4 separate regions of the Homo sapiens genome follow, and regions 1, 3 and 4 are each linked to region 2. Evidence: promoter capture Hi-C in 16 types of primary human blood cells and fetal thymus (Javierre and others, 2016). All regions are on one chromosome and are shown on one strand. Each heading gives the region's core, a stretch centred on a gene start or on the middle of the fragment in contact. The rest is flanking DNA. Distances are from core to core; before and after follow the strand shown. Region 1 overlaps ATG10 (autophagy related 10). Region 2 holds the start of ACOT12 (acyl-CoA thioesterase 12). Region 3 has its middle 36 kb from the start of ATG10. Region 4 overlaps ATG10 (autophagy related 10).

Region 1 (6,995 bases), core at 837-3,336, 780 kb before region 2:
AGGCCCTCGGAGAACTATTGCAGGTTTGAGCACAGGTAAGTAAGCACAGCAGTGGTTAAAAAGATATGACTACAGGTAAGGGGCAGAGAGGAAAGGAGCAGAAAACCACAGGTAAGAGGCTTTACTAATTGTTCCACGTGAGGTCAGAGGGCTTGATCTAGGAGGGTGACAGTGGGAAGAGAAAAGATTAATTTGAGGGGCAGTGTGAAAGATACAAATACCTAAAGCTAGTTTTGTCCTCAATTAAAACCTAGAAAATGGTCATTGTTAAAGAACCACTTACAAGATGCTAAGGATTCTTATGTTGATTGGGAGGTAAACTGTCATTATGATCAAACACATAAGAGGGCATAAAAATTCTAATAACTGATAAACTCATTTTTAAAGGAAGCTTTCATTAGCTGAACAGAAGCTTGGAAAAAATAATATTTTTGATATAAGTAAAAATTATTTTTAAGGAGATGATGATTGGTTGCAAGGTGATGAGTAGTTTTAAATTTCCAAAATAACTACTGATTTTAGCAAGGCAGTAATGACTTACATGATTGACAGATCTATTTCCTTTACTTTTGCAAATCTACTTTTTATATCTACTTTTGCAGATCTATTTTCTCTACTTTTGCAAATCACTATTGCAACCATATTATTAATCAAAAGCTCTTCTTTTTTGCAAATGTATTTATGAGTAAAACTGTAAAACAGTATAGATTACATAAGCCAAATCATCTATTTCTTAATATATAAGCCAACTTAGTTTCTATTTTCATTTGCTTAATACATTTTTATTGAGCACATACTACATGATAAGTACTGTTTTGGTGCTGCATGTACAATGAAGAATAAAAGAGACATGGTCTGCCTATATGAGAGCTCACAGTACAGACAGTCCCAGACTTAGGATGGTCCAGCTTAACAATTTTTAGACTTTATCATGGTGCAAAAGTGATACATCTTCAAGAGAAACCATATTTTGATACCTATACAACCATTCTGTTTTTCACTTTCAGTCAAGTATTCAATAAATTGCATGAAGCTATTCAATATTTTATTATAAAATAGGCTTTGTGTTAGATGATTTTGTCCAACTGTAGGCTAATGTAAGTGTCCCGAGCACATTTAAGGTAGGTTAGGCTAAGCTTTCATGTTTAGTAGATTAGGTGTATGAAATGCATTTTCTACTTCAGATATTTTCAACTTACGATGGGTTTATCAGGATGTATTCCCATTGTAAGTCAAGGAGTATCTGTATAGTGGAGAAGACAGACATCAATTTTTTTAAATCATCCTAATATGTAATTTAAAATTGGAATAAGCATTCTAAAGGATAATTATAGGGCACTCTGAGAGCTTATAATAGGGTGGCTAAACCAAGACTGGGTCTGGGAAGGTTTTTTTTTAAGGAAACTGTCTTTGAGGTGAAATATGTAAAGATATAGACAAGTGAAATAGGGAAAAGAGTTGGAGAGGGAACTAGCAGAAAAGATGAGCAGCGGGAAAGAATACAATAACATGCATACAATAAAATGACAATACTCTCCAACCTGTTGCGTAATAGTGTCCCATGGTCCCTGTAGCAGTCGCATCTTATAGCACTCATGAACTCCTTCCCATATGTCCTTCAGAGTTAAAGGTCTCCCATCTGTGAAAGTGCATGGTAAAGACTGAGTTAGTAATTCATGTGACACAATGGTGCTTGGTGTCAATCTAAAACTCCTGGAAGAATATCATGACTTTTAGAAAGATCTTCAGTGCACATGCTATTTATATATCAAGAGAGTGCTATATGAATTACTATTTTCTTCCTGAGGGAAATTTAAACATTCAAGCTTCTCAGCTTTGTATCCATCTAGCATTTAAATTGTCTGCTCATTCATTGCCTCTAGGAATTTTACAAAATAAATAAAATCCAAATGTGTTTTAGAGAGAACTGACAGATGCAAGCACAGGCAAAGGAACCAACAGACTCCCATATTCATAAAGGTGCACCATGAATACTCTGAATCCTTCATACTTACTCTAGTCCTTAAAACAAAGAAGCCATACCCATGCATCTTTCACATTCTCATGGAGTATCTATAATGTCCAAATCACTCCATCAGGTACCATGGAGAATAGAGAGAAGAAAAACACGCAATTTCTCCTAACAAGGAGCCTAACATCTACTGAGGAAACTATGACAAGTATATTACAGTAGAGTGGTCTCTGCCTGAAGAAGACTGAAGCTCACTGATGGTCCAAGGAAGAGAGATATTAACACTTGGTGTCTATGGCAGGTGGAGAAAGGGACTCTTGGGGTGGGGAAGGACAAGAGAACGGGGTTGGCATGAAGAGGGCAGTAAAAGCTTTATTGAACAATAATGCTCTTTTTCTTTAAGTTGTTTCAATTATCCCTCTGTATCCACCCAAACAATGTATTTTACAAAGACCACTATGGCACTTACATTATACACAAGGTAAGTAAAGTGGAAAAATAGGTATCTAAGTTCTGAAAAGAAAGCAGAAAGAAGAAGTCACCTAAAGATTTCAAACCATACACTACTGGAAAGAAGGTGTCTTAATGCTAGAATCCAATATAACTTGATCCATTCAGAGCTATAAGGCCCTCAAGACTTATGGGCGTGCTCTTTTGGGCTAATGGATGATATCACTTAAAGATATTTCACATAGCAATATACTGAATATTTAGACCAAAGAAGTATTTGGTCATCAAGGGCAACAAAGCATAAGGAAAATAATCTACTCAAGAGCTCCAAAAATCACTGTATTAAGACTTTCAAGTATAAGTAGAAATGTATGATGTTGGGGGAAAAAGCACTAGATTTGGAATCTGGACTAAGTTTTAAATCCTGGTGTTGGCACTTACTCTCCATGTGAGTGCAAATTATTTTGCTTTTAACTTTACCTGCAAAATGAGAATAATGATCCTTTCTGGGTATTGTTCTTTTGAGGCTTACATTAGTGAATGCACCCAGGACTGTGTTAGGCACACAATAAGAGCTCAATAAATATCAGGAATCTCCTCCCAGCCCTCACACAATTATTCCAGTAATTCTCAAACCTAAAAGATTCATTTCTAGACTGTTATTTCTTAGAATTTTCCCATGTTGCTATACCGTGCATATCATCTTTGATATAGTACCATACTAATATTATAAGCAGGGCATTTCTCATGTTTGACCTAAAAAGTTGAACTTTTCCTCAACCTTTATTTTCAATAAATAGCAATAGAATATTTTGATACATTTTCAATAAGTATCTTCATCTTGGCATTTATCTAGCGGCAGGAGACCATTATCTTGTGATAAATAGTTTTATTCCATTGACATTTCCATGTCTGTAAAATGAACAAGATTTATTCATCCAATTAACATTTGAATGTCATGTTTAGCTACAAGTTAAAAACAAGCTGCCTTCAGTATCTGTGTTATATTGTTTTCTGAACACATTTACAGAGTAGGGCCAAACTCTGCTCTTAAGCACTATGCATCTTTGAAATATGCAAATGCCATGCATGCATATGTGTATGTGTGTGCGTGTGTCTGTGTGCGCATGCGTGTGTGTGTGTATTGGTGTGGGAAGAGGCAAATAAGATCTTAAGAACTTTAGTGTCAAATAGTAAACTAATCAAATTACAGAACGACATGCTTTTAAAATAATTTTTACACGTCAAAGTTAGAAGTAAACAAATACCTGTAGTAGGATAATAAAATGTTAGAGCTAGTATAACCACTAATTTTATAAATAGGGCAGCCAAGGTCTTACGAAATATGTATCTGCCAAAAGTATGCAGCCGGTTCATGACTGAACTGAAGTCTGAATCCAGATCTCAGGACTCACCAATGCTCTTCCTGCTGGTCCACGCTGCCTCTGAGGGCAGAGGCACTGCAAATGCTTTACAAATATTTACTGAGCAAATGATAAATGATGAAAAAATGCCTTCCTTAACTTTATTTCTATTACCATAAAGCTTTTCAGACCTAGAGAAGAATGCTGGGTTTCATATCTGGTAATCAGTAATGATTTTAATTTTATTCCTTAAAGTATTTCAGGCAACAATGTAAGTATGGAGTAAATGGTTTGGATAGAAGTTAATTTTAGAAGTAGATGTTTTATATAATTGGGCACCTACTATATGCCAGGCATCTGTTCCAAGCCTTTGTGATACATCAGTGAGCAAAACAATCATCCTTGTTTTCATGGAGGTTACATTATGCCTTGGGGTGTGTGTGTGTGTGTGTGTGCGTGTGTGTGTGTGAAAATAAACAATAAACACAATAAACAAGTAAACTGTATATTATCTTAGGAGGTGATACATACTATGGTGAAAACGAAAAGTAAAGCAGGCTAAGAAGTGCCAGCCAGAGGTGGGTTTGCAATTTTAGACTTTAGTGAGAAAGTAACTTGTGTGCAAACACTGGGAGGCACAGCGTTCCAGGGAGAGGTGCCAACCAGTGGAAAGACCACCAGGGCTGGGTAGGGGATCACTAGCACTACATGCATATCACTAACATTCGTCACTTAAAGCCAATGACTAAAAAAAAACACACATAACTTTATCAAGATATAATTCACGTACATACAATTCACCCATGTGAAGTGTACAATTCAGTTATATTCGTAGAGTTGTGCAATCATCACCTCAATCAATTTTAGAACATTTTCATCACCTTAAACAACAACAACAGCTGGGCACAGTGGCTCACGCCTGTAATCTCAGCACTTTGGGAGACCCAGGTGGGAGGATTATTTGAAGCCAGGAGTTTGAGACCAGCCTGGGCAACAAAGTGAGACTCCATCTTTACAAAAATGTGGCTATATAGGGAAGGGCAGAGACAAGAGGCCAGGAAAGTATTTACCTCAGTGGAGTCCTTTAGCTGCAATCCCAATGAGGCCTGGCAAAGCTTTATTTCTTTTTCTTCAGAATAAGCACTATTTTCTTCTCACCCCAACTTTCTAAACCAACTTGCTTGCTTTTGATTGTTGTAACCAGAGCTTTGTTTGAAAAGTAGACTCTTCAAATGAGGAAACCAATGGAAAAATTGGTAATATAACAGTGCAAGTCTGTTATACATCCACAATGATGCAACTGGTTGAGATGGCTTAGACAGTCGTGACCTCCATGAATACCCTCTCCAAACCATGGTCTCCAACTTCCAAAATCTAACCCCCTTAAAAAAACTGAGGAAGGTCAACAAGCAATTATAATACCATTGTTAAAATATCTGCTTCTTCTAGGCCCATAACGGCTATCTCAAGGGCCACTGCAGTCTCTTTAGCACCTATTGAAGTTCTGTGTTTGGCACCCCCTGCTGGTGGCATGCTAGGCCTGGTGGGACTACATGTTTTTAAAACAAGCATATCAGGTCTTAAATATTCAAAAGACCACTGTTCCTCAAAACAGTCACCTAGGGAGGTTACCTGATTATTCAGCAAATTCAACCAATATTTATTCCAACAATGCTGTAATTCTGTCAATGGAACTGCCTTTGAACTTTTGAACTGCCTTCAGAGCCAGACAAGTAACTAATTACTTACTAGTCCCAAATAGGTTTAAATCAAAGGAAAAAAAATTATACTTATTTTATTCCATATATTTGCTTCCAAATGATTTTGTTGTCGCCAAACAAATTCACCTTTAATAAGTAACCATCTTCCAACTTCTAGCCACAAGGACTGGAAGAAGTTTCAAAACCAGCAGTTCCCAAAATATGTTGAGTAATCAGAGTATGGTTGGCAAAAGTATATAATTTTGCTTTTCCTCTGTGTCTCTGCAAATCTCTCCAGTTTCTGCTGACCACTTACACTGTAAAAGGTCTGGGTAAATATAGCTTTGTCTCTATGACAACAATGACTTAATGAGGTATGATGTGGTTTCTGTTCCCTAAGCCTTCGTCACTGGTTTGCCTAGTCACAGTTCACACCTTCATCATCAAAGACACACAAAAGTTAGTTTTTGAGATCTTTCATACAAAAACAAAAGATCTAACTTAATCAGCAATATCTTCAAAATCGTGGCATACATTATTAATATCTAAAATGCATTCAAATATGATCGTGACTAATTATTTCAAAAGCAAAATGGATACTTGAGAAATCCCACTGAAACAAACTGGGATATTTATATATGTATAAAGAACTGCATCATATAAACAAAGTAGAAACCTGAAGAATGTTGTACATATCCACTTATTTATGAAAACTGAAGACTCAAAACTTAAAACACGGACATAAATACTTGGTTAAGTACATAAAACACATTATTATGTGCCTGCATGTTCAATTCAAAGTATCTTCAATGAGAAACTTTAAACCATGTTAAGAGAGTCTATTTTTTTACATCTGGCCTCAGTCAGAGGAGACATAAGCATACTCAATCAACAACTCCTTCGTTTCAGATCCAAGATACTCAATCGCACCAATTTTAACATGCTTAGAAATTTCATTAGTCACATTGAGGCTGTGTAGCTCAGTAAAATCTCTTGAATACTTGAAAAAGAAGTAGAAGCCAAAATAATTTCAGTAGTAACCTACATAGTGAGCATGGTAAATTGAGGTCATTTATATAACAAGTGTTTATTGAGTGCCTACTATGTGCCTGTATCACTTGGAATGATAATACACATTTAAGCTAATGGAATGTTCTGTCAGTAATCTAAAGTGTCAATGACAAAAGAAGAAGAGACATTAGGTGAAAAATAGAATAATTAAAAAGTACAATCTTTAGCAACTGCCAGTAGCATTTAATTTGACATTTTCATATAAAATCTCTCAATTGAATAATAACCCACATGTCAAGTAATCTATATATTACTCAAAATGTGCAGCTTTCTAAATTAAATTTCTCAGGGCTATTAGTTTTCATGAGCCAATAACAGCATGAGATATTTCACCAGCACTATCTAACTCTAGTGCAAGCACGCTGGAGTCACCTTTATCCTTATTGTGCACGGTTTCACTAACATTTTTTAACTCCTAAAATGAAGACTAGAGAGAGT
Region 2 (6,786 bases), core at 2,407-4,906:
AAAACCCATTCCCCAAAGTCACTGCCATCCCTAGAGCAGGGTTCAGGGGCAGAGAAGGACAGGAGACCCTCCAGTCAAGAAGTTGGCGGCCAAAAGCTGAGAAAACCCATCCTGGAATTTTTGCTTAGGGGCTCTGAGTTTAAACTTTGAACCACATCCTTATAAATTTGTATTTGAATTTGGAAACACTGACCTGACACCTTTTAAAACATACCAAATGTAGAGAGAGAGTTTGATGGCTAATCAAGTTCATCTCTGTATGAAGTACTTGAACTAGCAAACCCTCTGTCTGGGACATATCTCCCACAATGGAAAGGCTCCCGGCTGCCTCTGCTGTTCAGGACAGTAAGGATTTTGGCTCTCTGCCTTGCCCACATGGCCACGGCACTCACCATTCTGAGTCCTAGTCCAAGCTGACAGCGTCTTCCTGTCCTACTGAGATAAAGCTCCAGCTGAAAGCTTGCTCTTGCTCTGAAATCTGCAGAAGTCCTGGGGAGTTCATCTCCTGGGACCAGCCCTTAGTCAATGAAGGATGCCAGTCAGAGGATAAAAACCCCAGGGTTCATGCCAGTGGGAGGGATGGCTGGGGCTGTTCTTCACAAACTGTAATGTGCCCCTGAATCACCTAGGAATCTTAATAAAATTTAGACTCTAATTCAGTAGGTCTGAGTTGGAGCCTGAAATTCTGCATTTATAATTTTTTCTTTTCTTTTCTTTTCGAGACAGGGTCTCACTGTGTCACTCAGACTGAAGTGCAGTGGCCCAATCATGGCTCACTGCAGCCTCGACCTCCTGGGCTCAAGCAATCCTCCCACCTCAGCCTCCCAAAGTAGCTGGGACCACAGGCATATGCTACCTTTCCTGGCTAATTTTTAAATTTTTTTTTTTTTTTTATAGAGACAAGGTCTCTCTATGTTACTCAGGCTGGTCTCAAACTCCTAGGATGAAGTGATCCTCCTGCCTCAGCATCCCAAAGTGCTGGGATTATAAGCATGAGCCAACACTCCCGGCCTGAGATTCTGCATTTCTAAGAGGATCCTAGGTGAGGCTGAGGCTGCTTACCTGGGGACTACACTTTGATGCCCCTACCAGTGCTTTCTGCAATTTCCTCCCAAATAAACTGTCTGCTCTCAAATTCTTGTCAGAGGCTCTGTTTCTGGAGAAAGCATTTTTTTTTCTACCTCTCTACTTATATTCCAGGTTCCTTGTTCTTAGTTTTCACAAAACCCAGCCACTACCTTACAATGTGACCCAAGGAAATCACTTCATTTCCTCATCTCTAGAATAAGAGTTTAGACTGTCCAGTTCCCCTTCCCACTCCAGCATTTTAAAGATTTTCTCGTTATTCTAGTGATTGTGGAACTTCCCACACTTTTTTGGATCAGCTTTCCTGCTCCTGTGTACAAACTTTTAAAATCAAGCTGGCTTCACATTCTGCTTATCTTCAAAAATGTCTCTAAACACAAATGAAACTCGACCTTTTATTCAAGCATAATAGTAAAAATCTTTGACACCAGAGAGAAATGGAGGTAACAAATGTTCATGCATGCAGATGACATTTTCATTGTAAAAGGAAGAAAGGGACCATTCAGAAAAACACAAGAATAGTAAAATGAAAATTAGTATGAAACCAACAAAAGATATGAAACCATAATCTGAAGACATCTAAACAGGAGATAATAAAGATAAGAAAACACAGCAGTGAATTTGTGTACCATGTCTGCTTTTAAAGCAACATCTCTAGACAAACACACAAATATACACATGCTGTCCCCTTCAAGAAAATCATTTTGGAAACCCATCCTCTTACACTTATGCGTAAACATTTTTGAAATTTCTTCTTCTTTTTCTTTTTTTTTTTTTTTTTTTTTGAGACTCAAGCTCACTGCAACCTCTGCCTTTTTGGCTCAAGTGATCCTCCTGCCTCAGCCTCCTGAGTAGCTGGGACCACAGGGACACACCACCACGCCCAACTAATTCTTGTATTTTTGGTAGAGAGAGGGTTTCACCATGTTGCTCAGGCTGGTCTTGAACTCCTGAGCTCAAGCAATTTACCTAACCTCAGCCTCCCAAAGTGCTGGGATTATAGGCATGAGCCACTGCGCCTGGCCTAAGTTTCTTTAGTTTATAAGAAACCAAGTATACAACCATACACATAATTCAATATCACCACTTTAGTCACCACTTTTTACCCAAAATAATACAACCCAGCCTAAATGCAAACTTTATTTCCAGTAATTTAATAAACTTCCCAAATATTAATACAGTTCACTCATGTAACTGTCAGCTATTGCTGCATAACAGACAACCCCCAAAATCACAGTGGCACACAACAATAAGTAGTTATGTCTCACTCAAGAGTCTTCATGTCTGCTGGGTTGCTCTGCTTCAGGCTGTGAGTCCTCCGGCTGGCTGAGATGCCTCTGCAATACGTGAATTCAGTCTGGTACCCAGATGCTAATAGGCAGCTACTTGACCTCATGGCAGAGGTCAGATGTTCCTGAGAACAGAAACACGGTGCTTCTAAAGGCAAGACTGGTGGTACACTGCTATCTCTCCACATTCCATTCTTAAGCAAGCCACATGGCCAAGTCCAAGGTCAATAAATGACTCTCACAGAGTTATTGGTAGATGGAGTGAATATATGATAATCTATCAATTCCTAAATTATGATTTCTCAATACAGAAGTCATTAAAAAGGCATTTTCCAAGGAGGAGTGCCAAAAGCGATGTAATAACGTTATCATTGAAATAAGTGTATAGCTACATAATGGGACCATCTTGGATGCACAAGTTTTTGTTTGCTTTTAAAAGTTATTTTAATGCCTTTTATATAAGTCAGACTTCATGCTTGCCTCAGTGAAAACATGCAATTCCTATTTATGATTGGATTGTCCTGAAACCTATACACAGAGGCTCCTAAAAGCTATCAAGTCAACATTTCCTTATTTCTTCACTTTCATTTTAAAAAAAATCTTTTAAAAAGGAAAGAAAAATACCAGAATCTCCATTCTGATGTCGCCATGCTGAGGCTTGGCAAGCCAAAAATATAAGGATGAAAAGGCACCACCAATTCGTGAGAGTCGGCTAGGCTTCTTCGTGCTATTCCGGACAGTCAGGAGCCCTGGGTTCCAGCCAGGTGATCGGGTCGCTTATCGGCTCCTATCACCTCAGCTGCTTGCTCCACTTCTCCGGGTTTCCAGTTCTCCATCGTAAATGTGCTCCCTGGAGCAGCCTCCCCTGACAGTCAGACATCCACCAATCCATTAGATGCTGGAGGTTTTCTGGAGACACTGTTTCCCTAATGAGGACTGCTTTGTACAGTCACTGATAGCAGCTCTAGAAAGTGTAACAGCTTTTTTATCTCAAAAGCTGTTCCTCGCGCTCCGGCTCTCGGGGAGCCGCCTTCCAGACCTGTCTACCCGGGAGCCCCCTCCCCGCGCACTTCCCAGACTTCTCCTGAGACCCGAGAGCGCTGGTTTTCCCCCACTCGCGATAGTCCTGGGATGACAGTGCGGGCCCCCTCACTCGCAGCTCCCACCACCTGGCGGCCAGGGGTTCGCGGCCCGGGCGGGCGGCGCCAGTGCCCTCTGGAGCTGGGCGGGGAGGGCGGGGCGGGCGGAGCGGGCATGGTGGGGTGTCGGGGGCCGCAGGCGTAGCGCTCTCGCCCTGGCCATGGAGCGGCCGGCGCCCGGCGAGGTGGTCATGAGCCAAGCCATCCAGCCGGCGCACGCCACTGCGCGCGGCGAGCTGAGCGCGGGGCAGCTGCTCAAGTGGATCGACACCACCGCCTGCCTGGCGGGTAGGCGGGCGCCGGGGCTGCGGGGAGGCGCGGGACCGGGGCTGCGGGAGCGGCGGCGGCTGGGGGCTGGGGGGGGTAGGAAGGCGAGGAAGGTACTTGCGGAGAGCTGAACCCTGCGCAGCCAGGGATAGGGGTGTTGCAACAGTGCGCCCGCGCTGGGCATGGCCGAGACCGGTGGTTCCCAAATGTGTGGCTCTCGGGACTCCTTCATTCCATTAAACAAGTGAGGAGCCCAGAGAGCTTCTGCGGGGTTTTTTGTTTGTTTGTTTGTTGTTGTTGTTGTTGAGCTCTCTCCCGGGCTGGAGAGCGGTGGCGCCATCAGAGGTCGCTGCAGCCTCGACCTCCTGAGCTAAAGCGATCCTCCCACCTCAGCCTCCAGAGTAACTAGGACCACAGACGCACGCCACCAGGCCCAGCTGACTTTGGGAGTTTTGTTTTGTTTTGCTTTTGTAGAGATGGGGTCTCACTATGTTGCCCAGGCTGGTCTCAAACGCCTGGACTCAAGTGATCCTGAAGTGTTGGGAGGCCCCAGCCTCCCAAAGTGTTGGGATTACAGGCATGAGCCACCGCACCCAGGCAGCTTTTGTTTATGTAGGCTATTTATATCACATTTACCGTAATGGAAATTTAAAATTTTTAATTATTTTTAAAAAAGAAATGGACTACATTGTTAGCATAACATTTTTAATTAAGAAATAACTATTTTCCACAAGAACAAAAGTGTAGCGAGAGGAGTGGTGATAAAGGTTACATCCTGGCGAGTCTCTCTAAGGTCTGGCTAGTGGAGGATTGCTGACTACTCATACCTGCTTCTGCATTCACCCTGCTGCTACCACACCCTTATGTAGTCTCTGGAAAACTCCACTGTGTTCTTGTGACAGAATGACAGTAAAAATGGCAAAAACATTTATTAAGGACTGAATTATATCCCCCACACCACCCACCGAAATTTATACACTGAAGTCCTAACCCCTGGTGTGACTCTATTTGGAGTGAAGAATTAAGGCTAATGAGGTCATAAGAGTGGAATCCTGGTCCCATACAATTAATGTCCTTATAAGAAGAGACACTGGAGAGCTTCTCTCTGCCATGTGAGGCCACAGCAGGAAGACAGCCATCCACAGGCCAGGAAGAGAGCCCTCACTAGGACCTACAATGGGCAAGCACCTCGATTTGGAACTTCCCTGCCTCCACAATTGTGAGAAATCAATGATTCGTTTAAGCCTTTTTTTTTTTTAACAGGATTTGAGATTGGTTATATTAACAATGGAAACATGAATACAAAATTAATCCACACATAGGAAAAAAGAATAATACATAAACCACTGAGGTTGCTAATAATAATGATGCCTGTTTCCAAGGCAACTGAATACATTATGAGACCACTGAAGTGACTTTTAGTTACCTTGCTTAGTGCCTCTGTCTTGTGATGGAGAAACAATGGCCCACCTGCAATTGTCATCATTTCTATGACCTGACATCTTTGGAAACCATGGAAAGATCCAATTGACAATCAATTACTCTATACCTTAATAGTTACATTACTATTAGTAGTATAATATTAATAACTGATAATGTTACTAATATTAAGAAAACCTGTATGATAAAGTTGGTTTGGGCAACATGAATAACGCCTGTGTTAAACACTTTATGGTGACCTGAGGCACCACATAAGCAGGGGACATTATTTAGCCAAGGTGTAACTGAATCTGTGTAGTAATATAAAACTGATTTCTCTGGGATTTTCTCAGAGTTTTTTATAGGCCAGCATTATCTCTTTAGCCACATTACTGCAATCCCAGTCATGGCCCCCAAGGCATTTCTATGACCCCTAGGCACTGCTGGATTCCAAAATGTCTTCTCAATATTTAAAGAAAGATGAAATATTCTCACTATCCTTACTTCTGTCAGTGGCCCCATTATTTTTCCAGTCCCTTAAGTCTAAAGTCTTGAAGCTATCTGAGTAATCCTCTATCTCACACGTCCATGTATTATTTTGGAACATCTCACACACACGGTTTTTTATTTGTGAATCTTTTCCAGGGTTTACTATCTCTGGAGTGGCACCCAACTCATCTAGTTGAGCAAGTCAAAAGTCTAGGAGTCATCCTTGATATTTCTCTCTCCACCTTACTTCTCACTTCACATACTCTATGCATGGAGCAAGTCCTATCAGTGTTACCCCCTAAAGGAGTCTCTGAAATCCAAGCACTTTGCTGCACCCCCATTGCGACCATCTACTCCAAGCTATCATCATGTTTCATGCAGACTTCAGCAGTGATTTCCAAACTCATCTCCATTCGTTCTGGTCTCCTCTCCACACTGCTTCTAAAGTAATCTTTGAAGATGCTAATCTGATTGATCATGTCATATGTTTTGTTCATTTTTCCCTTTCTTTTCTTCACCAAGGGCTTTAAGGATTTTTCTAAGATGTTCAAGTGCTTCCTACTAAAAAATCTCCCACAGATAATAATTATAAACTCTGGGCAAAACACTAAATAAAAGAGACTTAAGGCAGGTGAAAAGTGAACAAAAGTAGGCTTATAACACTTGAAAGTTAACACATGAAAGAACAAAGTGGTGTTGGCTTTTTCTGTGTTTGTTTTATAAATGACTTGAAGCCTGAAAGAAAATGCCAGTCTGCTCCCAGCTATAGTTCTGATGGAAAACCCACAGGCTTGCTGGTTTGAAGAGCCCAAAGACAGGGTTTGGGAAAAGCACAGCTACTGAATGAAATACAAAAGGGAAAGTTCCAGAAAGGAAAGAGCCAGAGAGACAGAGCCCTAAAATCTATCTATAATCTTTTCCCAGATATCTGGCAAATCTTGAATCATGTATACATAGGACAGACTCCAAACCTCCTGGTTGAGGCCAAAAGAACTGAAAATAGTTGTGCCCATCTCTAGGTAGACAGATTATAGTTTTGGTTTGGTCAGGTTAACTGCTTGCTTTAAAAAACAAAACCAAAAACAAAACCAACACTT
Region 3 (6,777 bases), core at 2,346-4,845, 540 kb before region 2:
CCACCGTGCCCAGCCGGCTTTTTCCTACTGTTAGATTAGGAGTAACATTTTCTTGTGGCTTTCTCCTTGTAAACCCAACAAACATTTTTTAAAAATGGTAATAGGGCTCGGCGTGGTGGCTCACACCTGTAATTCCAGCACTTTGGGAGGCCTAGGTGGGTGGATCATGAGGTCAGGAGATCGAGACCATCCTGGCTAACATGGCGAAACCCCATCTCTACTAAAAATACGAAAAACTATCCACGAGGCATGGTGGTGAGCACCTGTAGTCCCAGCTACTCGGGAGGCTGAGGCAGGAGAATGGCATGAACCTGGGAGGAGGAGCTTGCACTGAGTGGAGATCGCGCCACTGCATTCCAGCCTGGGCGAAAGAGCAAGACTCCATCTCAAAAAAAAAAAAAAAATGACATAGAAAAAGATAGAAAATCACAAAGGTGTATCATTTTTAGTAAAGGTCTGGAGAATAATTATTTTGGAAATATAAGACTGTGTGTGTGTGTGTGTGTGTGTGTGTGTGTGTATGTGTGTGTGTGTGTGTGTGTAAAATGAACCATAAACTAAAATTAAATTTTTACTTTGGGTATCAGGTAAAAGCTACCAGAATAGCATAAACTTCCTCTACCTTTCTCCTCTTCATCTAGAGTAATGGTGTTCTTAACTCTCCCTTACTCCTCATATTTTACATTAGATGTTGCTTCCTCTAAGAAGCCAGTCTGGATTAGGTGTCATGCGAGGTACTCCAATAGCATCTTATACTTTCCTTATTTTAGACCTCACCACATATGCAGCTTAGGTTAGTTTTCTTGCTTTCAAAGGACAGGCTTGGGTGGAATGGGAGAAAAATGGAGAGACCATCAACCAGGTCAAAAAATCACTAAGTGAGGTTGTGATGTTGTACCAGGTAACATTCTCATAATTCCCTCCCCAACCCTTAAAATTTGTTTTTTGTTCTCTGTAGATACAAGTGCTACTGATTCTGATTTCAAGGTAATATTAAGACACATGTTCTATATAAGTATTCATATTAAGGGAAGGGGGTTATGATGAGCTCATGTTCCTAGCAGCAAAAAGATCAATAAAAAAGCACATTTTTGGACAGGCATAGTGGCTCACACCTGTAATCCCAGCACTTTGCGGGGCCAAGACGGGCAAATCACTTGAGGTCAGGAGTTCGAGAATAGCCTGGCCAACATGGTGAAAACCCATCTGTACTAAAACCACAAAAATTAGCCGGGTGTGGTGGCGCACACTTGTAATCCCAGCTCCTTGGAAGGCTGATGCGGGAGGTTCACTTGAACCCAGGAGGCGGAGGTTGCAGTGAGCCGAGATCGCGCCACTGCACTCCTGCACTCTAGCCTTGGCAATAGAGTGAGACTCAGTCTCAAAAAAAATAAAAAATTTAAAAAAAGAACATTTTATATATCCATATATATATATATATATATATATATATTTTTTTTTTTTTTTTTTTTTGAGATGGAGTTTTGCTCTTGTTGCCCAGGCTGGAGTGCAATGGCGTGATCTCTGCTCACTGCAACCTCTGCCTCCTGGGTTCAAGCGATTCTCCTGCCTCAGCCTCTCAAGTAACTAGGATTACAGGCATGCACCACCACGCCCGGCTAATTTTTTGTATTTTTAGTAGAGACAGGTTTTCTCCATGTTGGTCAGGCTGGTCTTGAACTCCTGACTTCGGGTGATTCACCCACCTCCACCTCCCAAAGTGCTGGGATTACAGGCGTGAGCCACTGTGCCTGGCCAAAAGTACATTATTTAAACTGATAAAGAATACAATAGTGATCCATAGTGAACAGACAAACCCAAAGCATGCCATAAAAGAGTATAAATGGGTTTTGGTGCTAGCACCATGTTAGAATTGCAAAAACAAATAAGATGGAGTCCTTGCCCTCCAAGAGTTTAGAGTATAGCAGAGTGACAGACATTTGAATAGATCATTGGAATGCATGTGAGAAGTACTGTAATACAAATAGATAAAGTTTGATGGACACACATGAAAAGGATCCTAATCTCAAGTGTAAGGGGCAGGGTAGTGGGGTGGAAAGGAAAATTCACTGGAGGATATGGGTACATGACAATTTGAGCTGCCTTCTGAAGGATGAGTAGGAGTTAGCTTCTATCTTGCAAGCATATTTTATAATCAAGAGCAATAAATCACTCAGACAGCAGTTATGTTGCATTTTTATTGAGAACAGTTCCAATAGTGCCCTTTATTTGACCTATCATAACACTTGTCATGCTGTATTGTAATTACCTGTGCTCTTGTCTATTTCTCTACTAACCTGTCAACTCTGTGGTAACAGGAACCATGTCAGTCCTGGCCATAGTTGTATTCTTGGCATCTAGCACAGTGCCTGGCACAGGGTGATAAATAAATGTTTGCTAAACGAGAGAACAACATCAAAAACATTTTACACATAGACATTAGAAATAACTGCTGGAGAAACAATCTTGACAATTAGTTAAAATACTGTTAAACTTTACAGGCAGCCTGTATATAATCTATTTTTAGTCAGTACTTATGGTAGTAAAGTCGTAAAGCTTGTATCTTTGATCTGCTATAAAAAATCCAGAGATTCAACTACTGCTTCCTAAATAGAAATGCAAAAGACATTAAGAGTAATGGTGTTCTTATCTCTTTTTCATAAAAAAGAAGGGTTAATTTCCAAACTTTTCACTTTCCCTTTAAGTTAACTGGCAAGGATGCCTTTTTTAACATCCAGATGTTTAAAGGGAACTATTACATGCTACAACATAACAGGAAGGAGAGGTTGAAAGGGAATCTAATATCCCTGTTTTCACCCAAGAAGCAATAAACTTCACCTTGAGGGTTAACGCTTTATGATGCATGGAGACTTACTGTGGTCACATGTAAAACAACATCCCACTCTATAAAGGACACTGGTGTTTGCAATAAATTAAATCCTAAATAGATGATAGCAGTGGTTCTCAAACATTACAGTGCATCAGAATTACCTCAAGAAATTGTTAAACACAAATTTCTGGGTACATCCCCTACCCCTCTTCCTCCTTCCCCAGCCCCCGTGTTTCTGAATTAGTAAGTAGATCTGAGGTGAGGCCAATAATGTATATCTCTAACAAGTTTTCATGTATGCTAAGGCTGCCTTTTGAGGGCTATCCATTGATAGCAACTGGACTACAGCAACTCCTCATTTTTTTACCAAAGCTTTAGTGATTTCACTTATTAGTATATCCTTCCACTCTTCCTTTAAGTTTAAATAGCAATCCTCATCTTAGAAAATTCAGGATTTTCTTTAATAAATTTTTCTATTTGGGAATCCCTTAGTATTACTCAGATATAAATAGTCATTTATCATTGTAATAAACATATATTTTTACTGCATCCCCTTGAAAATAGGATGGGAAAGTGAAAGGTTAGAATTAGAGTATGATAAAATGGTAAGATCAAGATTTAGGATTTCCTTTTCTGGCAATATGGCAGTTTAAATAACCTGAAAATTACTATGAAAATATAAGAATTGCTGAAAAAAATTAACGCTCTAATTGAGAGGCAGTGTTTTTTAATGATTAAAACATAGACTTTCGAATCACATGCCTGGATTTGGTTACCTAGTCTGCCACTTTATAGCTGTGGGACTTTGGGCAAGTTAATTAACTTATCTGTGGCAGTTTCCCCATCTGTAAAGTTGGGAAAATATTATTACATGCCTTACAGAGGGTTATATGAGAATTAAGTTTAAAATGTTTAGAATAATATCTGGCCCATTCTGTATATTCTGTACAAGTGTTAGCTACTCTTATTATTATTGTTGTTGTTGTTATCATCATATTGTTATCTGCCAAAAAAATATGGGAATATGCAGACATTTAAACTAAAATAGAACATGAAACCAGTCAAGGCACTGTGGCTTGCAATCTAAGGGCTTGAGTTTTTATGCCTATGTAGAGAGCTGCCTAAAGCTATATTGCCAATAAGAGTCAACGAAGCTTCCATTCACCAGATAAGAAAGCTAGTTTACTTTGGGCTGAGTTCTGAATAGAAAAAGTCTCCCTCAGAAATCTATAACCATAGGCCTTTGATTCCCAGACTATGGACTTCAAATTTATACTACTCTCTACTCCTGGAGCCCTTCAAACTGAGAAATCAGCATAAAAAGTAATCCTGGGCTACTGATATCCCTTGGACACCTCAAAGAAGAAAATTCAAAACCTCTCTAAAGAGATACCCCTGAACTAGACTATCCAGGATTTCTGTAGATCAAACTTCTCTGAAAATGAGCCTCAAAATCTAAATTTACAAAACATATGTGAAAATAATGCACTATGAATTAGAGTCTGCGGAAAAATAAATCGTAAGATTCAGCCTTAAGAATTTCATTATATAATAGAAAAACCTAATAGAGACTATGACATAAAATGTGATAATATAGTAAGGATGTTTAAAAATACAGATTCTATTGTTAAAATTGAGAAATTATTAAAAAAAGAAAAGGTTGATAAAACATATAATTTTAAGAAGCAAAAAAAGAATGCTTGTGATTTTTACACATTGATTTTGTGTCCTGAAAGTTTGCTGAAGTTGTTTATCAGCTTAAGGAGATTTTGGGCTGAGACGATGGGGTTTTCTAAATATACAATCATGTCATCTGCAAACAGAGACAATTTGATTTCCTCTTTTCCTAATTGAATACGCTTTATTTCTTTCTCCTGCCTGATTGCCCTGGCCAGAACTTCCAACACTATATTAAATAGGAGTGGTGAGAGAGGGCATCCCTGTCTTGTGCCAGTTTTCAAAGGGAATGTGTCCAGGTTTTGCCCATTCAGTATGATATTGGCTGTGGGTTTGTCATAAATAGCTCTTATTATTTTGAGATATGTCCCATCAATACCTAATTTATTGAGAGTTTTTAGCATGAAGGGCTGTTGAATTTTGTCAAAGGCCTTTTCTGCATCTATTGAGATAATCATGTGGTTTTTGTCTTTGGTTCTGTTTATATGCTGGATTACATTTATTGATTTGCGTATGTTGAACCAGCCTTGCATCCCAGGGATGAAGCCCACTTGATCATGGTGAATAAGCTTTTGATGTGCTGCTGGATTCGGTTTGCCAGTATTTTACTGAGGATTTTTGCATCGATGTTCATCAGGGATATTGGTCTAAAATTCTCTTTTTTTGTTGTTTCTCTGCCAGGCTTTGGTATCAGGATGATGCTGGCCTCATAAAATGAGGTAGGGAGGATTCTGTCTTTTTCTATTGATTGGAATAGTTTCAGAAGGAATGGTACCAGTTCCTCCTTGTACCTCTGGTAGAATTCGGCTGTGAATCCATCTGGTCCTGTACTTTTTTTGGTTGGTAGACTATTAATTATTGCCTCAATTTCAGAGCCGTTAGAATGGCAATCATTTAAAAGTCAGGAAACAACAGGTGCTGGAGAGGTTGTGGAGAAATAGGAACACTTTTACAGTGTTGGTGGGACTGTAAACTAGTTCAACCATTGTGGAAGACAATGTGGCGATTCCTCAAGGATCTAGAACCAGAAATACCATTTGACCCAGCCATCCCATTACTGGATATATACCCAAAGGATTATAAATCATGCTGCTATAAAGACACATATGTTCATTGCGGCACTATTCACAATAGCAAAGACTTGGAACCAACCCAAATGTCCATCAACGATAGACTAGATTAAGAAAATGTGGCATATATACACCATGGAATACTATGCAGCCATAAAAAAGGATGAGTTCATGTCCTTTGTAGGGACATGGATGAAGCTGGAAACCATCATTCTCAGCAACTGTCACAAGGACAAAAAGCCAAACACCGCATGTTCTCATAGGTGGGAATTGAACAATAAGAACACTTGGACACAGGAAGGGGAAAGTCATACACAGGGGCCTGTCTTGGGGTGGGCGTAGGGGGGAGGGATAGCATTAGGAGATATACCTAACGTAAATGACGAGTTAATGGGTGCAGCACATCAACATGGCACATGAATACACATGTAACAAGCCTGCACATTGTGCACATGTACCCTAGAACTTAAAGTATTAAAAAAAGAAGAAGCAAAAAAAATACACTTACTACAATGTCTAATAATCACGGCTAAAGAGACAATTAGTGAACTGGAGGGTAGATCTGAAACAATTACAGAAAATACAGCAACTATGGAGATGGAAAATATGAGAAGAGTAGGGTACCAACGACCTTGGTTTGCCTGGTTTTAGTATTCAAGGTCCCACGTCTCAAGAAACCCCTTTTTCCTGGGCAAATCTGAATGGTTAGTCACTCTATTAACAGATACAAATGAAAGGACAGAATAGAATGAGAAAGTCCAACTTAAGAATTCCAACATGAAAAAATATTAAAAATGGGTAAGAGGAAATACTTGAAGAGATAATGTGGATTTTCCAGAATTGATGAATATGAGTTGTAAGAAAAACAGAATAAGAACTTTAAGATTCAGGGATCACAGATACCAAGAAACAGAAATAAAAAGAAATATACACATCACAGTGAAATTGTAGACCTCAAACATAAAGTGTAACTATTCAGAGTTATCATAGTGAGAAAACAGGTTACCTACAAAGGAACAAAATGTAGACTGGCAGAAGATAATACAAATATCATGTAGAAGTCAATACAATAATAATTTTAAAGGCCTGAGATGAAATAACTTGCCAGATAGATTCTACACCCAGTTAGCATTTGGAAGTTAAGGCAACACCCCCACTCCCACCTCATGATAGGCTATCCTCTCACTCACTGCTGTAGAG
Region 4 (6,278 bases), core at 2,404-4,903, 760 kb before region 2:
TTTCTTTTATTATGTGACTTTTAAAGGATTTGGGTATACAGTGAGCCCTAGGTATACACGGGGGATTGGCTCCAGAACCCCCCCACCCTGAGGATACCAAAATTCACAGACGTTCAAGTTTCTTATATAAAATGGTAGAGTATTTGCATATAATCTACACATATCCTCCCATACTTTAAATCATCTCTATATTACTTATCATACTTAATACAATGTAAATGCTATGTAAACAGCTATACTATATTGCTCAGTGAATAATGGCAGGAAAAAAGGTCTATACATGCTCAGTTCAGATGCAACCACTATAGTCCTAACTACAGTTTTGATCCTGGTTGTCTAAATCCATGGATACGGAACCCACAGAGATGGGGGGCGGGGGGGCAGCTGTATTTCATTTGATATTAAGAGTAATTGAAAAAAGAAGTCACAATATATTGATTTTTCTCAAAATGTTGCTATTTCATGAAGATATGTGTATTTAGAAAATTACATTCATTCAAGAGCTAAAAGATTAAATGGTTCACATTAATTATAGAAACCTTGATTTTATTGAATTCAATTAACAATAAGTTGACAGTGATCTCTCATTTAAAAAATCTGATACGAATTAAGCTTTACAACTAAATCCCATTAAATAGGGATCATGCTGAAGACACTTCACAGCTATTTTATTGAAAGCAAACCCAAATAGTGTATTGGGCCTTGGAAATGAGATCCATATCTCTATTTAGCCTACAGAGAAGGAAGAAAAACTTTTCTTCTATCACTAATAATCTGTATTACTATTACTGAGCAAACGTAAGTAATGAGCTTTATTCATAACATCCCTTGAGGAAAAGATAGTTGATTTGTTTGTTTTCTACCAGTCAGGTCTTTAGTTCAAACCTAACATCACTGGTTCAAAGACAGTCCACAGTCCTTAGCTGTACTGAAGACTGGACACAGAAACCATCTCATCACAATGGAAAGATGCGATGTAATATACTCTTCATTTGCTGATTTTCCTGAGCCAACAGCCATTTAATATTTTCAGAAGTGATAACGACTGATGAAGCCTTCTGATAAACCACTGAAAAATCAATTCCTCAAGAAATAAAGAATTTTAATATTAAAAAGTTTAAAGTGAATTATAAAAATAATCTGTGGGACCTTAAGTAATCAGCTCTTGTTTTGTTTGTTTCAAGGCTCATTATCATACAGTGGAGTGGTCTTTTCACTATCTTAATTCCCAGAATGACTTTTTCCACAATCCCTGTGGCTTCTGAGTAAGTGACTGTCACAAGAACCTTTGCAAGCAACGTAATTCTTTTAGCAACTGTAAATGTTGTATATGGTACATATCAGCGGGTTCAACATATGTCTAACAGCATCCAAGGCAACACTGAAACAAAAAAGGGTGGTTATAAGATGATCCCAAGGATAATATCTTAGTGAGGCTCTCCCCTTCCCAGTAATATTATCACTACTACTACTGATTTTTTTTTAAAAGGGGGTAAAAAGGTGCCATTCTTTACTCTCCCTGCTACATCAACCAAAGTGAATTAGCAACAGCATGGCCAACGTGGGTTCCCACTGAGAGGAAGAATCTGTTTCCTGTGCAGGATTAAAACCTCTTCTCCAGGCAGGCATGCTCAAGGGCGAGGCAGGAGGGAGGGGATGCAGAAACCCGCCACAGCACATCTGGCAGTTTTCTGGATGTTTACAGCTGGCTCCACTGTGCTTCCTAGACCCTGTTTCTTTTAAGACTGCATAGGAAACAGCAAGACAGCTAGTGCCTGGAGCTGGGAAGCCAGCAAACACGCCAAGTAAAAGGTGGAACTGTGGAAGAGGCTATCTCTTAGAGTCCATGCTACAAAACACAGGTTCTTTGGCAGGAGGAAATAGTAATAATGCTTAATCGCACTTATCACTTATTTCTATACATCTAAAAGTAAAAGAATTAGCAGAATAATGGATTTGAAAATCAGAAATTCTTTATGTAAAACATGACAAACTAGAGGAAGAGGGGAAAATTTTGACCTCTTGAAAAATTATCAAGCTTCAGAAGTCGGTCAAGTGTGTTTCTCTTCAGTGTTACCCTTTACATGTGACATAAGAAAGGCCAGCATCAACTCTAACAGTTTACAGTTTTTCTAAGCCTATTGATGTACATCATGTAATTTGTTCCTCTGCTCTAGGAGGAAGGCCCAAGGTCTCCAGCAAGTAAGAAACTGAGCCAGGGCACAAAACTAAGCCTTCAGGCTCCAAGTCCAGGGTTCTTTCTAGCCTGCAAAGACCATCAGATTCTTGGTGGTGAGAAATGTTAAACAGACGTATTCCTGGCCTCCACCCCCAAAATTCTAATCCAGGAGTTCTGGGATGGGTTTTAAGACTTCACCTTATAAGCAGTGTTCCTGGTGATGCTATGCAGGTCTTGCCTCACATACACATGGAGGGTCTACTTTGTGATTCTTTACTTTTGTAGTCTATGGAATTATAAAGTCAGGAAACTCATTCACCAAGACCCAGAATTATGCCATAAACCGGTTTGCCTTCACTAGCTGCTCATCTATGTTTTGAGAACCACCGTTACTTCATTTGGTCTCCTCTCGGAGGGAGCCTAAATGCACTTCCATTAACCTAAGACCTCAGCTTATCACCCCCCACTCCCAGTTTATTGCCCCATTCCTTCATCTTCTCCTATATAAAAATTTCCTTCATTTTGTCCTTTTCCTTCTAATTGGTTAGTTAATTCTTGCTAAACTATTAATGGCCATTAGTGGCTTAATATGTTACTCCTTTATCAATTATTATATTCAACAGTAGATTTGTGGCTGATAACCCTAATCAAAAGGAATCTTTAATAATGGAATTTGGAGTGCCAAAAAGGAATAAATTTTGCACCACACATGTAACCACCAATCTGTGAAACTTGCCTTATAAGGCAGTCTATGTTTTAACTCCAGAGCCAGAAAATTCTTCCTTGTTACCTTGCTAGAAAGTAAATCAGTTTCCACTAGATTTATCCTTGCAGAAGATTAAGAACAAAGAGTCATTATTTTTATATAATATGAATAAATTTATTTGTTCCCCATATTGAATAAGCCCAGTTTCTCTAATTTTTCTTATATCTCTAGTTCCACAGATCTCCAAACATTTTTCTAAAGGGCCAAGTAGTAAATATTTTAGGCTTCTGTGTGGGCCATAGGTCTCTGCAGCTGCAGCCTGAAAGCAGCCACTGGCAACATGTAAACAAAGGTACGTGGCTGTACTCCAGTGACATTTTATTTACAAAAACAAGCTGTAGTCCATAGACCTTAGTTTGCCTACCCCTGAAAATCCTAATTTTAAGGCCTTCTTTAATTTCATTTTATTATATTTTTACAAGCACTAAACAGAATTTTATTAAAGGACTTGTATCTCCATTTGGTGAACTCTTTCCCCTTTCCATTTTTTTCCTGTCTTAGGATGTTACATTACATTTCCAAGGGTCTAAGAAATTCTGAGCCTTAAAAGGACAATGATAATTAAATCCAATGGGCTGAAGTTTGGCTAAAGTCATTTTCTAAAGTAAGAGATAGCACTACCCTAATTTAAACAAGTGAGATTTTTAAATGTCTTGATGAATAAACTGCAAGTTCCTTCAGCACATGAATAAACTTCTACACTCAAATTCAGAACTGAGTAAATTTCTCTGCCAAAGAGTGAAAATGATAAAGCCTTCATAAACAGACCAAGAGGCAAGCATTGTAGGAATGTTAGAGGACTGTGAATCCTAAAGCACAGGCCCTCTCACACATGCACAAGAAACAGCATGTCTAGGAATCAGCAAGGAACTGTTTCAGTAAGCCATGAGTTCCTTCCCTTGCTCAAAACTGTCTCTGGATTATATGGATATGAATAAGGATTTATTTGTTTCTTTGCTTGGTTTTTACCAGGAGAATCCCTTTAAGATTTCCACAAGTATCTATGACGTGCCAGGCACTATGCTTGTGCTGGGACAAAGATGTGGTTGTTGCTTTTAAATAATACTATAATATTTCAGCAGTAATGAGAGCAACATTAAGCTCTCAGCTTTCTATTGGGATTCAAGGAGACACTCAAAATCTCGGATAAAAACACATAGACTTCAGAGAAGCATAATATAGGCAAAAATAAAAAAGCACAGAATTTGGAGCTAGATGTGGGTTCAATCCCTGGCTCTGCCACTCATGGAATGGACAGGTCATTTGACCCCTCTATGCCTCAGTTTCTTCACTTGTTAAATAAAGGCATCTTTCCCTTGTGATTAAATGAGATAATGTATAAAATGTGTATATCTGGCACATAGGTATACTAATTAATCATACATTCATTCAAAAAATGTTATAGGATACACTAAATATTCTAGATCAAAGGTGTCCAAACATTTTCTTAAAGAGCCAGATAGTAAATATTTCAGGCTTTGGGCATCATAAGTCTCTGTCAAAACCACTCAACTTTGCCACTGCAGCATGAAAACAGCCTAGATAATATGTAAATTAATGAGTGTGGGTTTGTTCCAATAGTGCATCATTAATGAACACTAAAATTTAAATTTCATATTATTTTAATGTCATAGAATATTATTCTTTTTAAATTCTTTTTTTAACCATATAAAAATATAAAAACCATTCTTAGCTTGTGAGCTGTACAGAAATACACAGCAGGCTAGGTGCTGTGGCTCATGTCTGCAATCCCAGCGCTTTGGGAGGCTGAGGCAGGAGGATTGCTTGAGCCCAGGAGTTCAAGGTTGCACACTGCACTCCAGCCTGGGTAACAGAGTGACACCCTGTCTCTAAAGAGAAAAAAAAAAAAAAAATAGGCAGCAGGCCACAGTTGCCATCGTCTGCTCTAGACACTGTCCTGGGGCCTGGGAATAGAAGAGATAACAATAATAGATATTATGTCCTAATATAAGGAAATACATTAAAAAATAATCACACAAAGAGCTATAAAATTATAATTACAACAAATACTATTAGAGAAAATGCACAGAGTCCCCAAGTACATAAAATTTTACCTCCAAATCTATGAATTTTGTTTGTGAGATTTTAATTTTTCTTTTTCAGCTTCATTCAAGTGTAAACCAGTTTTATGTAGCACTGATCATTTTAGTATCCTAATCACCCTTAACCAAGGCTTATTTTAGTTCAATGATCACAACACCCACCCAGATAGATTTTCAGGAACTGTTTTTGTCCAAGTTTACCAGATTGCCTAATCACTTAGAATCTGTCACCCCTGTCACCTCTGATTATCCAAGCTTCTTCCCGATAAACTCTTGCTGCAGCCCACTAAAAAGTGTCTGCCTACACTTTCTGTTGCCCCCAGCAATAGTTTCTGCTTGAGAATGCCCCACAAGTTTTTTTCTCAGCTTTACAAATAACTCACTTATACATGTGTGCCCACTTGTATATGCATGGACAGCACACATATACATTCAACTAACTAACGTTCACTGAGCATCTACTATGAGCTAGGCATGGTGCCAGCACTGGAGATTTGTTGGCAAACAGATATGGTGTTTGCTCTCAAGGAACTTATAACTACAGAGAGCGTGGGAGAAAAAAACATTGCATAAACAATTATTTGAGTATAATGTTGCAAGTGCTATAAGAATATAAGAATACATCTTGAGGCCTTATCCAGTTGGCAGACTTGGAAAGGCTTCTATTACAGCACACATATCCCTTTGAATGTGAGTGAAGGCAGGGCTTTTGCCTGTCTTATTCACTTACGTATTCCAAGCATCCTGAACTGTACCTGGCAAATAGTAGACATTCAATCAATATTTGTTAAGTGAAATAAATAAGTGGAATGAGTATAAATTGTCTGTTGCCATTTTCATCCTATAAATCAGAGATCTCTAAACTTTTTTTATCATGACACTAGGAGTCAAAAAAGTTAAGCACTCAACCCTAATATGTGTATATTTACCTCTTGATCAATTATGAATATGTATTTCTATATGATATATTTTGTATATTATAAAATACACTAAAATATAAAAATTTTAAGGATAAGACAAAGGTGAAGGAAAAATATTTCAAGGTCATTCTTTTAGTTGGGTGATGATCTGGGTACTAATGAAAGTAGCCCTCCTACCCAGCTCTTTGCTCAGGCACCAAAAGGCCTTGGCTGGCCCTCTACCCTCACCCTTCATTGAGCTTCTTGCCTATTTGGCTCTTAGATTTCTGCGCCAGTGGTTGTGATTGAATAAAGTTGCAGAAATGTTGATTTTAAGGTGCCCATTGAAAAGTTAGCACCTCAAAATGTGA

What was found. Contacts are between HindIII fragments. The CHiCAGO score rates a contact against its expected background, and 5 or more counts as called.
Region 1: a fragment that was not itself captured here is called in contact with the fragment with the promoter of ACOT12 in region 2 in 8 of 17 cell types (total CD8 T cells, naive CD4 T cells, total CD4 T cells and 5 more); the score reaches 9.1 in total CD8 T cells.
Region 3: a fragment that was not itself captured here is called in contact with the fragment with the promoter of ACOT12 in region 2 in 1 of 17 cell types (erythroblasts); the score reaches 5.6 in erythroblasts.
Region 4: a contact is called between a fragment that was not itself captured here and the fragment with the promoter of ACOT12 in region 2, in 5 of 17 cell types (non-activated CD4 T cells, M2 macrophages, naive B cells and 2 more). The highest score is 6.7, in non-activated CD4 T cells.

The regions. Positions count from the first base shown.
Region 1 is chr5:82,173,134-82,180,128 of GRCh38, reverse strand. It overlaps ATG10 (autophagy related 10), which reads right to left. Exons shown (of 8, transcript NM_031482.5): 5 at 1,542-1,639. Among named protein-coding and RNA genes, the nearest start is that of RPS23, 100 kb to the left of the region's middle. The HindIII fragment of the contact is 516 bases long and covers 1,829-2,344 here.
Region 2 is chr5:81,391,004-81,397,789 of GRCh38, reverse strand. It overlaps ACOT12 (acyl-CoA thioesterase 12), which reads left to right and starts at 3,656. Exons shown (of 15, transcript NM_130767.3): 1 at 3,656-3,802. The coding sequence starts at 3,676. The HindIII fragment of the contact is 6,480 bases long and covers 462-6,786 here.
Region 3 is chr5:81,932,327-81,939,103 of GRCh38, reverse strand. No RefSeq gene overlaps it. Among named protein-coding and RNA genes, the nearest start is that of ATG10, 36 kb to the left of the region's middle. The HindIII fragment of the contact is 782 bases long and covers 3,205-3,986 here.
Region 4 is chr5:82,152,452-82,158,729 of GRCh38, reverse strand. The region is part of intron 3 of ATG10 (autophagy related 10); the gene reads right to left. Among named protein-coding and RNA genes, the nearest start is that of RPS23, 120 kb to the left of the region's middle. The HindIII fragment of the contact is 3,225 bases long and covers 2,041-5,265 here.